Linked DNA regions of Homo sapiens: region 2 is linked to region 1. The links are contacts of gene promoters, found by promoter capture Hi-C in blood cells and fetal thymus (Javierre and others, 2016). All regions are on one chromosome and are shown on one strand. Each heading gives the region's core, a stretch centred on a gene start or on the middle of the fragment in contact. The rest is flanking DNA. Distances are from core to core; before and after follow the strand shown.

Region 1 (6,903 bases), core at 3,127-5,626:
AGACAGAGAGGGGTTAATTAACTTGTCCACAATCTTACAACTGGTAAGGGGTGGAGTTAAGATTCTAAACCAGGCCATTCAGCTCCAGGATCTGTGTTCTGTGATCTTTAGTGTAATAGAAGCAATGCAACAACTTCCATTTGTTGGTCCTTTTATACGCACTAGCTCACAGCTTCTTCATACCATATCAGTTACTCATTATTAACACGCCACTTACATGTGAGGAATCGCAAGCTTCGAGGATTTAAAGAACTTGCTCACAGGTTCTGCCACAGCCAGTGAGAAAAGCAGGAGTCAAAGCCATTTCTTAACCACTCTGCTATCTTTACAATTAACCTCCTCCAGCCAGGTCTTATGGGACAAGGCAATCTGCATTCCAGTAGGACTGCATTCTAGTAGGGCCCTAGGTCCTCATCCGGAACGCTAATCTTTATTCTCAGAGCTCAGACTCAATAAGCTTCTTGGCTTATCACTCTCAAACTTTTAAAGATAATGAGGCTGGGTGCAGTGGCTCATGCCTGTAATCCCAGCACGTTGAGAAGATCGCTTGAGCCCAGGAGTTCGAGACTACCCTGACCAACATAGTGGAGGACTCATCTCTACTAATTTTTTTTTTTTAATTAGCCAGGCATGGTGGTGCATGCCTGTAGTCCCAGCTACTCGAGAGGCTGCAGCAGGAGGATTGCTTGAGCCCAGGAGTTCGAGGTTGCAGTGAGCTCTAATTGCACCACTGCACTCCAGCCTGGGCAACAGAGCAAGAACTTGTCTTTAGCGAGACTCAGTCTCAAAAAAAAAAAAAGATAATAATTTCCATTTCAAGGTTTATGTGAATTTGTATTGTCCACATATGTTGAGTTGCAAAGGTATACAAATTATTATTGGTGAAGATCTGGCTTTCTTTCTACAAAGGCTCAATTTGAGGAGAATATTGCAATATTACTTGGAGAGCATCACGTAGGAGTGGAAAAGTTTAGAATCAAAACTCAGTATAAGCCCATTCTGCCACTTTAAGGTGATTCCACCTCTCTAGGATAGTAATACCACCTGCACACCCTAACTCCCAGGGCTATTCAAGGAACAACTGTGCTGATGTATAAGTTATGCGTGGATAAGCACTTTATATGTTGGAAACAGCTATGTGCAAATAAATGATCTAAAAGTCATGGTTCTTTAGTCATTGTATTTTGTTTCATGAGACCCACTTTCATCCCAAGCACTTTTTATCCCCAAGTCTCCAATCATACTGAGCTAGAAAGTTTAGAATCACAGAACATGAAAACAAGGGCAGACTAATATGCCTCAACTTGTTTTTGAGGATCTATCCACAAAGACTGGAGCTGAAAGAAAGTCTTTTAAATTTGGTCAGTTGTTCCAAGAAACAAGAAAGGGAAGCTCAGAAGAAACTTTTTTCTTTACTATTTCATCATTTCCAATTAATTTTTCTCTTCCCTGAAACACACCCACCTCCTACAATATTCTTGCTGAAGGGAGTACTAGGTTTAAAAGGGAGCACTTTTACATAAACTGCCCTAATAAGATTTTGTAAAGTGGATTTGGGAACCTTAAAGAGGGGTTCAGAATAGTCACAGGTGTTGTTTTTAAGCTAAAGGGACATGTTTTTGATCCCCAAAAAAGGCAATCAAAACTTCTCCAGTATAGCTAAGGTGCACGCCCCAGTCCCTTTTGCACTCATATGACTTTTAAAAAATTAATTTTTAAAAAAAGTGTAATTGGCTCTACTGGATCTGAGAACCTGTACAGTCCAGTCTGATTCAGATCTTACCTCCAGCGTTTTGTAGCCTGAGAATATTTGTATTGTCTGAAATACAAATGGAATATTTGTATTGTCTGAAATACAAATGGAATATTTGTATTGTCTGGAAAAAAAAAAAGGAAGGAAAGGGGGAAAGGGAGAAAAGCCATCTCCCAACAGAAGGAATTGTTCCACTCAAGTGGGATAGGAACTGTTCTATCAGAGCAAGGAAGCCTGCTGCGAGCCGGGACGTAGCCCCCTTCTCCCCACCCCACCCCCACTAGCCCGCCTGCTTTCCCACCTCCAGGTTGGTCTCAGACGGCTCTCCTATGCAGACTCTTAGCCTGCAAGTCTCATTTCAAATGCTGCCTCTGCCATTAAGCCTCCCCGAAACCCCTTCACAACCTTCCGCAGCCCCTCCCTGGGAAAACCCTAACTTTTGCTATGATACTTTATCACTAAGGTCTTAGGCACTTCAGGCTTGTCCTCACTAGACTTAAAGACAGTTCAATGACTACGGAGACAAACTACAGGAAGATTCTCAGCACAGGGCCTCATACGCAGCAGGCACTTGGTGTGAGAGTTGAGATGAATAAAACTGATCACTCAGAGCTACTAAGAGAATCCTGATTTTGTTCAAAGAAGGCAAATATCCACAGTGTTAATAAGGCTAATATCAGGAAACAGCTCTTTTAAAAAAGGGATATATTGGCCGGGCACGGTGGCTCACTCCTGTAATGCCCCCTTAAAGTGCCAAAGTGCTCTCTTGGCACTTTGGGAGGCCAAGGCGGGCGGATCACCTGAGGTCAGGAGCTTGAGACCAGCCTGGCCAACATGGTGAAACCTCGTCTCTACTAAAAATACAAAAATTAGCCGGGCATGGTAACACACACGTGTAATCCCAGCTACTAGGGAGGCTGAGGCAGGAGAATTGCTTGAACCCAGGGGGCAGAGGTTGCAGTAAGCCAAGATTGCACCACTGCACTCCAGCCTGGGGGACAGAGCGAGACCCTGTCTCAAAAAAAAATAAAGGGGGATATATTATTTTCTGATAAAACTATGCTATTTATTTATTTATTTACTATTATTCAGAGTTTCCTCAGCTGAGGTTATTATAAATTGGGGAACCAAGTAACCCAGAAGTCGGAAACAACAACATACCGGAGTTGAGCATTGCCCTAAGTTTTAGAGGCCATCCCAAGAACCATACATAGAGTTTGGATAGGAAAGTATTTCCTTAGAAGAAGGAGGAAGTGTAAAAGGAAAAACAAGGAAGTGAAAGTCTGAGCTGAAAATGTGGGCAGGCAAAGCTTTGGGGAAAATAGAAAGGTTAAGCTGGCAACTGTACAAGGGCCCCGTCTACTGGAAGCAGATGCTCCTGGGCTGCCCTGGGCGACAGTCTTGTGAAGTCAGCATGCCCTCAGAGAAAAGGTCCTATGTGCTCGGAGGTTCAGGGACAGTGCAGGGTTGAGAGTCCATTAATCCAGTTTAGACATTCAATAAGCTTCTAGCTACTTTATTATCAACACCCCAAACTTCCTATACCCCTGTTAGTTTCTGAAAAAGAAGTCTGGGCTAGGTGGATATATATCTTGTGATTTAGGTGAATTTGTGAACGATGATTTTTCCAGGAAGAAAGGAAACTGGGACGAAGCTTCATGATGGATCCTGATGCAACTCTTCCCCAGAAACCCTTAAACCTCCTCCCATTTTTTCTGCCCTTAAGGGACAAGGCTTGGCTGTGATCATTGGCTCAAATAATGTGGACAGAGACAAGGATATTGAAACGGACTGTCCCACCGTTGAGAAAATAGTCAAGAAGGCAATATCTGAGAATAATTGGAGTGCTTTAGGAGGAAGGTCATTGCTGAGAAGAAACAGAGCTTCCAAGAAAATGAAAGGAAAAGCTCTACCAAATGGAAACTAAATCTACTTATTAAGTCTTATTTCCATATAAGGAGGGTGAAAGAAACTGATATGATTGTGAAACCATGTAAGTGTTGCTTTGGCTTTTAGACTATACATATTTATCCTTATGTTCAGGAAATGTGTTTCTTCTGGTTCCCATGTTCCCTCCAAAGCCCAGGTGGACTTCATCACCTTGAACTGCTGGCCTATGGCATAGACAGAAACTAGGAAAACCGCTTTTCCACCAGAGCGGCTGGGCGTGGGCTCGGGTGAGGTGTGATGGAAAGAGCTCTAGAGTAGGAGGGGTCGGTACCTTGACCCTCGGCTTGCCCTGGGTAGCGGACGATTAAGTGGGCCAGGGCAAGTCACCGAGCTTTCCTGGTACTGTTTCCGCATCTGTAAAGTGGGCGTGTAGTCCACCTCAGAAATGGCATTTTTCCAAGACCTCCCTAGGCCGCTTGTTGGAAGGCTCGGCACCTCGGCGGCTCTCGTGCGGCAGGCATCGCTCCCACACTTACTAGGCAATATGTCGGGTGGAAGACGTGGCGGCTCCCGCTCAGCAGCCACCCTCCCATCCTCCCGGGCCCGCCTGACCCGAGAGGGCGGGCGAGGTAAGCATCCCGCTGGTGGATAAGGCAGCGATTCCGGCGGGCGAAGGCTGCGCGCCGGGGGCGAAGGATTCCAGCTGTTCTAGGTCTCTGTGACCCGCGCCTCTGGTTCCGAGCGCGGTCTGTTGACGACGGCGTCTCCGCGGTTGCCTGGACACGGCCAATCACAGCGCGGCTCCTGGAGCCGGCCCCGCCCACAGACCGCGCCCTCACTGGGGCGATGGCTGCGGACCGTGGCCAAGAGGGCGGGGCGCCGAGGCCGTCACCGAGCCAGGTGCGGAAAGCCGGCGTCCGGAACCACCCGGGCCGGGACGACCTCCACCCCAGACCCCCAAACAGAGGCCACGCTAGAGGGACAGGGCGAGTGGCGTTGCCCCTTGCGCCTACTGTCAATGGGAAAATTAACAACAGCGGAGAATATGAATGAAAGAATGAATGAATTAACAAACAAATACACTGATGAGCTGGGGTAGAAATATAGGGTGCGAGCAGACAGGGGAGGAAGGCGCCAGAGGCCGAGGAGAGGCGAGGAGACTGCGGGAAACGCTACAAACGAACTTCTTTTCATACTTTTCAGCAGAGCATTGACCCCTGTGTAGTTTTAATTTTCACCTCACCACTGTCAGGCGATGCTCTCTTCCTTGCACAGTTCAGAGAAAGACGCTTTAAAAGAGGTGGGGCAGTTCGTTGTAGCTCAGCCACTGGACGTGGGCGGAGCTGAGACAGACAGAAGGGACAGGGAGCTGCAATTTTGCAATTGTGGAGGCAGGGGCTGCAGTTGCCAAGAATATTCTTACCTGTTTGACATGAATATTTCTATAGGCATTATTTTCTCCATTCAGCTTTGTTTTTAACCTTTGTTTCAGTGTTACCTTATCAATTAAGCAAAAGGCTCTAAATATTTTCCTATTTTTCCAGTCACCAGGAAATAAAATTGTGCTTATGAAAAGTATCTTTAAAGTCTTAATAAAAGACCCCACAGTAAGTATTGTTTTTAGGGTATTGGGATAGTAAACGATTTTAGATTTTAAAATTATAGAACTGACCAGATCATTTGCAGGTTTTTCAAAGAACTAATAAAACATAGTTAATGTTAGAACTGAGTAATTCTGTCCCCCCAAAAAAAGTCTGCTTCATCCACAGGAATTTATTTCTCCTGCATTCTTTTAATGCCTCTATCATTTAAAAAGTACTGAAAGATTTCATTCCATATCACAAATCATTCCTGGCAGTTATTAGTTTATATATATTTGGCCCTGCAAATGAAACCTGCCATCCACACCACCAAAAAACAAGCAAAAGCTTGATAGTACTGAAGACTGTTCAGAAGGGAGTAAAACACCAGCCTCGCCCATGTTTGCCAATGACCCATTAATCCTTGCTGTCCACACCCTGCCACACTAATATTCTTGGGTCACGGGGGTGAGACAGAGCACACAGCAACACATAGCCAAATGCCCTGCCTCACATGGTCACGCCAGGCACTCTTGTTCCCACCTTCACCCCATGCCTGCTCCTTTCCCTAGGACACTTGCCACATACGTGCAAGTCACCAAGATGATCTGTCCCTATCTTTCGTGTTTATGTGTCTATAAGCATACATTCTGTTGAAAATGTGAAACATTACTTACTTAAATTGTAGAATGATAAGTGAGTAGAAGTTTAAGGTTATTTTGAAGCATTAAATAGTTGGTATGGACTTCAGTTTAGCTAGTTACAGAATGGTTTGCCTCATTTTTATTGAGTTATTTGAAATAAGAAAACCTTTAGCACAGTGGTGATACACTACTATACTGAACTTTTGACAAATTTGTTTTGAGTTTACATTTTTACAGATAATTTGTATCTTTCCTTAAACCTCAGTAAGCGACATTGATCAAATCACTGCCATCTTTGATGTCAAACTTCTGGACTTTACCATTAAGGGCTCAAATTATACTTTCAGACTTTTGCTCATTGCCTCCAACACAAACCCCCATCCCAGAGAGACCCACCTGGTCCCTGCCTCTGAGCACAGATGACTTTACTCAGGCCACCCAGATTACCACAGTTTGGGAATCACCGTCCCTTCAGGGTCAGCTCTAGCTCTTCTCTCTCTCCCCAAAGCCCTCCCATGGATGCTGCGGCCCTAATAACTTCTCTCTACCTGTACAGTCTCAAAGCATTGCTTGCCAGTACCACACTCTTGGCAACCATGTACAAGCCTTTGACAAGCCTTTCGTTGTTATTTGACCTTTGTGCTGTTTACTTTTCAGGTTCAATGGGTTTTCCTTTTCTTTATACAAGTCTATCACTGCCACTGCTTGGGCTTATGGCCATGATCAGAATGTTTGGTGGAGGAGGGAGGGTGATAAAGGAAATGAAGGGAGGAAAAGCATTTTCCTAAGCCCACTGCAAAAACTGGAACCAGAGGAGACGGAGAATGTTAACTCCTTGTATATATGTGTGAGAAAGAACCTGAGCTGGAATTAAAACAGAGGCACTCCCTCTGAAGAGGAAGGAGAAACTGAGAGAGTGAGGCAGTTCCTGCTGAACCTTTGTTAGCTCTTGTGGTGAAGGGAGTTTTCGCCATCAGGGGCAGCCTTGGGAGAGGTAGGTGGGGACAGGGGCCATCACGGGGAGGTAGAGCTCAAA
Region 2 (6,903 bases), core at 3,018-5,517, 260 kb after region 1:
GTTTAGATATGAGTTATTAAATTACATTTTGACAAAATGTTGAAAGTTTGTTGCAGCTGTTCAGAAAACTCAAATTCTGAAATTAAAAACAACTAAGTAAAGATTTTTGCTAAGGAAAAACTAAGAGCACTTGTAATTTGGGATGTATATGGACTATATATAATAATATGTAGTTAAGATTGAAGACCATATGTTTAAAAATTAGATTTGCTGTTAGTATATTTTTACATTGTAAATTATTAATTTGCTTCATTATGTTTTGCTGGAAAGCTAAAAGATTAGTAATGTCTGACTTCACAAAAAAATAATATTTGGGGGGCTGGGCATGATGGCTCATGCCTATAATCCCAGCATTTTGGGAGGTGGAGGCAGGCAGGGCACTTGAGGCCAGGAGTTCAAGACTAGCCTGGCCAACATGACGAGACCCCATCTCTACTAAAAAAATAATACAAAAGTCTGCTGGGCATGGTGGTACATGCCTGTAATCCCAGCTAGTCAGGAGGCTGAGGTAGGAGGATCACTTGAACCCAGGAGGCTGAGGTTGCAGTGAGCCAAGAATGCCCCACTGTACTCCAGCCTGGGTGACAGAGCAAGATTCTGTCTCATTTAAAAAAAAAAAAAAAAAGTATATATTTTGGGGTTTTCAAAAATCTGGTTTAAGAGGGAACAGTTCTTATAATACACAATGTCCTTATGAGTAAAGCAATTACCACCTAATGTTTCTTTTTATTAATCTTATTGTCATTGTATTTCACAAATTGATAGCTTCAATTTGATATCTTATAAGGTAAAGATTCTAACTTGGCTAAAAAGCACCTTTTTAAGAAATATTTCTTTTCCTCAATTTTAACAGATCTACCAAAAGTTTTAAACCTTCATTTATTAAATTCAGGAACAAAAGATGTACCAATAACAGTAAGTTTTTACTTCTTTTTTCCCCTAATTTATATATTCTTTGTTTTTAAATGTATGACAAAGTTAAAAATAATTAAACCCTTATTCTAAAATAATTATATTTGGTGATGACCTGGTGACACTTTGGTTCTAAGTGTGATGTGAGAAACCTGTTCTGCCCCAGCCACCCGGATTTTAAGGATGAGAGAGAAATGGGCAATCTTTTCAAAGTAAGTTTGAACCAAAGTTCATGAGTTTCTTATACAGGCACAGTCATATAAAAGGCCTGTTCTGATAAATCCTAAAATCTGTGGGCCATGTGTATAGAAAAACAGGTTATAAGGATTTCATCAGATTTGGTTGTTGGAGTTAAGGTATGGGCAGGAAAGAGGAAGAAGAGTCAGATGAATTGGGAAGAAAATAAGCAAAAAAAATGTTGTAGGTAGTGGTAAAGTGCTGTTAACACTTGTCACAGGCTCCCTAACTAGCAGTTATTGAGTTACCGTAGGCAGCACATTATAAACTAAGGCCCTCTCTCCCTCACACATACATACAGAGTAAGTAACTTTTAGGCCATATGGAATTGAGGTGCCGTTAGATAGTTTTAGGAAAAAAAGGGATATCTAAGTTTTGCCTTGGCCCACAACGTCTCTCCCTGATGAGGTCCCCAAGATATATACATGTGTAATCATTATATAGGAAAATAGGACATTTTTATTATAATTTGTGCTGATGCCAGAAACTTAACTTCAGTGAACTGACAAAATGAAATATAGATCATGTGGGCTTGAGATTTAAGGGACCTTTGTCCATCGATGGCCATACCCAGATTTTATCACCAGCTGGTGGAGTAGACCAAAGAGAGAAGAATATACAAACCCCAGCGAGGAAGCAAGAGATGGTCTTCCCAGGTAACCACATTCTGATGCGCAGTGACCTTCCTCACTAGTGGGACCGGGATGCAGGCATTGTCTTCATATCTGACCTAGCATTTCTCCTAGATGGGAAAGTGCCTTTACTTAGCCCAAGCAAACCAGCCTAACTTTTTACGTACAATAAATGGACTGAAACAAGTATCTTTTTCAATAAACATATTATAGGAAAATGAAATTGGCAATTAACCCTAAGAATGTGAATGAAGAACTAGTACTCAGGTCACTTATGACATGGAATTAAATAGGCCCATGTTTGTCCTTTTTCTTATTCACTAAGGAGTTTTAGGATATATTGTAAGTGAACATTTTTGCTCTTACTGGGTCAGGCACTATGCTAGTACTGCTATGTAATAAATGTATTACTTAATACCTATATGGTGCAGTGGTCCTAGTTTTCTAGATAGGAAAGCTGAGTTAGAGCTGCTTTTTTTTTTTTTTTTTTTTTTGGAAGTGACTTACACAACTATAAAAAATGCAAAAATAGGCCAGGCATGGTGGCCTCACGCCTGTAATCCCAGCACTTTGGGAGGCTGAGGCTGGTGGATCACTTGAAGTCAGGAATTCAAGACCAGACTGGCCAACATGGCGAAACCCTGTCTCTACCAAAAATACAAAAATTAGCTGGGCATGGTGGCATGTGCCTGTAGTACCAGCTACTCAAGCTGAAGCAGGAGAATTGCCTGAACCTCAGAGGTGGAGGCTGCAGTGAGCCAAGATCACGCCGCTGTGCTCCAGCCTGGGCAACAGACCGAGACTGTCTCAAAAAAAAAAAAAAAAAAAAAAAAAGAGGTATGTGAAACATGAAAGTATATTATACAGTGTCACTTAGCAATCACATCTTTATGAATATATCATTTTAATTGCATAGTCTATTTCTGTTAAAAACCTATATATCTGTTAATATAATACATCTGTACCTACATCTGTACCTACCTATGTGTGTATCTTTTATAATATCCAAAGCCCAAACTCTGCCAGTGTTTTGGTAGTTTTCTCTTATTCCCGCCTTCATTCACCCATTCAATAAATATTTAATGAACATCAACTGTATGCTAGCTGCTATGCTGACTGAGAATACAGCAGTGAATCAGACCACTGGGGTTCCCTACCCCATCAAGCTCACTGTTTATCAGGGCTCTCTGGAACTCTGGGAGATATTTAGATTTTATTCTAAGTGTAATGGGAAATTATTACAGGATTTTAAACGAGAGTGACATCATCTGATTTATGTGTTGTAAAAGGTCACTGTAGCTACTTTGTGGAGAGTGAACTTACAGACATGGAAGGGCAGAAAGCAAAGGAGACCACTTGGGATCTGATTTAGCAATCAGCCTGAGAAATGATGGTGGCTTAGATTTCCCACCTTATCAGCTATGGGGCAAGCCCACCTACCGTGGAAACTGAGTTTTCAGAGCTCTTCTTAAGGTTTTCCCTGTGTGTTTCAGCATTTTCTGCATAATTCACCAGGCTTAGAGACTATAGATATTTAGAAAGGTTCCTGTCTCCTTTTGTTTCACAAACATAGAATTTTCAGGATTTGCTAAGCAGTGCTAGAAGCTGGAGATCTTTTTTTTAAATTCCCCTTCAGGGAATTCATTCTCTTTCTAAATATAGGATTACTAAAGCAAGCAATTCCAAATAGAAGTTCCTCAACTGCTAACAGACAGGATGCGCAGGTCCAAACTCTCCTAATATGTCTATAATGCAACTTTGAGAAAATGGCTTTCCTCAGCATTTACAAAACATTAGTGCTGTATAAATGATGGAGTAAGTTTGCCTGAGATGCCTTCAGAGGAATGTTTGCATGAGGTTTCCCTTGGTAATTAACAAATCGGAATCATAATATCAGCTTAACATATGCTTTAGTGAACTCATACACAAATTATTAGAAATACAATGTTAAATGCTGAAAGTGCTTTTTTCCTTATTTGCTCAAGTGCTTTTATAAGCAGTTTTAGAATGTTCCGGACCGTTGAATTTCACTTGAGGGTTACTGAGCATTAGTTGGGTCTGAATGTTGTGAGAAAAGCCTAGAACTATATTTAGAACATATGCAAGCTTGCGAACTGCCTTTCCTGGGAAACTTGCAATAGTTTTATACTTCTTGATTATCTTTGAGTTAGCAATAGTCACTAACAGGTTGTTGTATAAATATGCTTACTACAAGGTGTTGATTGTGTATGAGTTGTCATTTAAAGCCACCAGAATGGGCCAGCTACTTAAGTGTTTTGTCTTGGGTTTGTTTGTTGGCTTTTTGTTTCCCTGGAAAATGGGTTTTAACAATTTGGGTTTGGTTTTTTTTTTTTTTTTTTTTTTTTAACTGATAATGAGTGAAGAATTCAGACCATTTGTATAAAACATGAGTTTTCAGTTGAATATTTCTTTGTTATTACTGCAGCGTATTTTAAGGTAGCAATACTAATGTAAAGTTTTTATCTGGTAAGGAAAATCTTAAAGTGGTGTGTTTCACATGAAAAAAATTTCATCAACTATTTTAAATTCTTACTAATAGTGACTATATTTTAACAAACATCCTTGCTTTGCTATTTCTGGCTTGGTGTTGTACAGGCTGATAACACTCAAAAAATATTGTGCTTGTTGTTGATGAACTCCCACTTCTAGCCTTTAAGCATATTGAAAAATGGTCAAGCCTTCATTGTGTGTCCAGAGTTGGTTCCTTCTGGTGGGTTCTTGGTCTCTCTGACTTGAAGAATGAAGCCATAGACCTTCGTTGTGAGTGTTACAGCTCTTAAAGGTGGTGCGGACCCAAAGAGTGAACAGCAGCAAGATTTATTAAGAGCGAAAGAACAAAGCTTCCACAGCGTGGAAGGGGACCCTAGTTGCCTCTGCTGGCTTGGGTGGCTAGCTTTTATTCCGTTATTTGGCTCCCCGCCATGTTCTGCTGATTCGTCCATTTTACAGAGCGCTGATTGGTCCATTTTACAGAGTGCTGATTGTTGCATTTACAATCCTTTAGCTAGACACAGTGCTGACTGGTGCATTTTTACAGAGTGCTGATTAGTGCATTTACAATCCTTTAGCTAGACACAGAGCGCTGATTGGTGCGTTTTTACCGAGTGCTGATTGGTGCATTTACAATCCTTTAGCTAGATACAGAGCGCTGATGGGTGCATTTTTACAGAGTGCTGATTGTTGCATTTACAATCCTTTAGCTAGGCACAGAGCACTGATTGGTGTGTTTACAGTCCTCTAGCTAGACAGAAAAGTTCTCCAAGTCTCCACTCAACCCAGGAAATCCAGCTGGCTTCCCCTCTCAATCCCCCCTCTAAATAGGACACCCCAACTGCTGTTGGGAATTGGGCAATGATCATTCTAGCTACTTCCTACTGGATAAGGGCAAAGAAGGGACCCTGCAGTGGTAGTGTCCTCCAGAGGGGAACTGTCTAGGCCAGTCAAAGGGCCAGTGGGTCGATCCAGGGGTCCTTGGTAGAAGTTGTTAGTTGAGCTTATTTGGGGTTCCATTTGTAAGACCATCTGTAGCTTGATGGCCTCGATCGTAGAGGAAACAAATTTGACAAGGAGATTAAAAATACAGGGCCCAAAGGCGAGTAATAGCAAGATGGCTGTCACAGGACCTAGAAAGGGAAGATGCCATGTTCCCCAACTCCAGAGGTTGGTATAAGAGTTGGAAAGGCATTGAAAGAGTTTGAAAGGCGTTGTCTGATTTCAGAAGCCTTTTCCTGTAAACGCTGTAGTATCCCTGACTGGTTAGTGTAAAAAAACACTCTTCTCCTAAGAAGGTGCAAAGTCCTCCTTTCTCAGCAGTGAGGAGGTCTAGGCCTCAGCAGTTTTGGAGAGTCACTGCTGCCAAAGAGTCTATTTGGGATTGTAGAGTAAGGATAGATTTCATTATTTCTTGCAAACTGTCTGAGAAATCCTTTGAGAGTTTGTGGTAGTAGGATAATGATGTAGATAAACCTGCTATTCTGGTTCCTGTAGCAGTGGCCATCTCTAACCCTATAAGTAGGGGTGTTAGTTGTATGGCCCTGTGCTGAGACACTTGAGCTTTGAGGGGCACAGACCCTATGTCTGATTTCCATAAGATTAGAAGTTAGGATAATATATGTTACACTTTTTTTTTTTCATAATTGAGATTTCATTGGTTGAGGATCGTACAGACATTTCAATTTGTACACAAATCTTAACATACATAACGAAATTCTAAAAAGCCATGTATTGTAATTATTTTTTAAAGTTATTCCAGTGACTTTCCAGCTTAAAATTTGGAAGCAAATTTTCCTTAAGAGGCTATCAAGTACCAGTATCTTCACATGTTGGTCAGCTGTTACATACAGCCCACCAGTTCACAACTCAATAGCACGTACACTACATATTCAAATTTGTAATCTTTCACAGCACAGTAACAAAGTTATTAGGAAAACAGGACTACCACAACCAAAGATGTTACAGAGTGCACACAATTCTGGCAGAGAGAGCCATGATCAAAGAGTGGTTTTCTTTAGGAAACAATTCTACTAAAAAACAACATGGTAATAGAAGTAATTTAAAATGTTCAAGACATTAAATGCAGGACTGACTCCATATTGCCATTTAATATGCTTTGTATTATAGGATATAAAAACTAACCCCCCATCTATGGAATGTTAAGCTGACACCCGAGACAATCAGAGCCTCCCATAATTCAATATCCCACACTATTTTCTGGTTGTACCAAAAAATAAACAACCAGCAAATGATTTCACCTCTTAAAAAAAAGCATTTACACTTAAAAAATGGGATGAGGTGGGATTCCCTCCTTCTTAAAAATGTTTCTAGAGCTACTAAAAAACTTGCATTTACAAAATAGTTGATAAAAATATTCCTCTGGATTGTACAAGAAGGGAGACAGGGACCACTGATAAGACATGGTATATGGTTATTAATCAGACTTGGCTTCTTTCTCTCCTGCTTCATCAGAGGCTGGACTCTCCTCAGTTTTCGTTTCCCCATTTTCTGCAGGTAAATCTTCTTTAGTTTCTTGGTTAGCCACTTCGGCCTGTTTTCCCTTTGCTCCCCTTTTCCCTTTTGTTTGCACGTTTTTGTCTGAAGATTT

Evidence for each region. Contacts are between HindIII fragments. The CHiCAGO score rates a contact against its expected background, and 5 or more counts as called.
Region 2: a fragment that was not itself captured here is called in contact with the fragment with the promoter of VWA3B in region 1 in 4 of 17 cell types (total B cells, naive B cells, M2 macrophages and 1 more); the score reaches 8.6 in total B cells.

What each region holds. Positions count from the first base shown.
Region 1 is chr2:98,084,640-98,091,542 of GRCh38, reverse strand. It overlaps VWA3B (von Willebrand factor A domain containing 3B), which reads right to left and starts at 4,376. Exons shown (of 28, transcript NM_144992.5): 1 at 4,180-4,376. RefSeq lists enhancers at 3,647-4,147, 4,182-4,251, 4,148-4,648. The HindIII fragment of the contact is 2,164 bases long and covers 3,410-5,573 here.
Region 2 is chr2:97,827,377-97,834,279 of GRCh38, reverse strand. TMEM131 (transmembrane protein 131) reads left to right here. Exons shown (of 41, transcript NM_015348.2): 11 at 854-915. It also overlaps the pseudogene HMGN1P36. Among named protein-coding and RNA genes, the nearest start is that of ZAP70, 120 kb to the right of the region's middle. The HindIII fragment of the contact is 755 bases long and covers 3,890-4,644 here.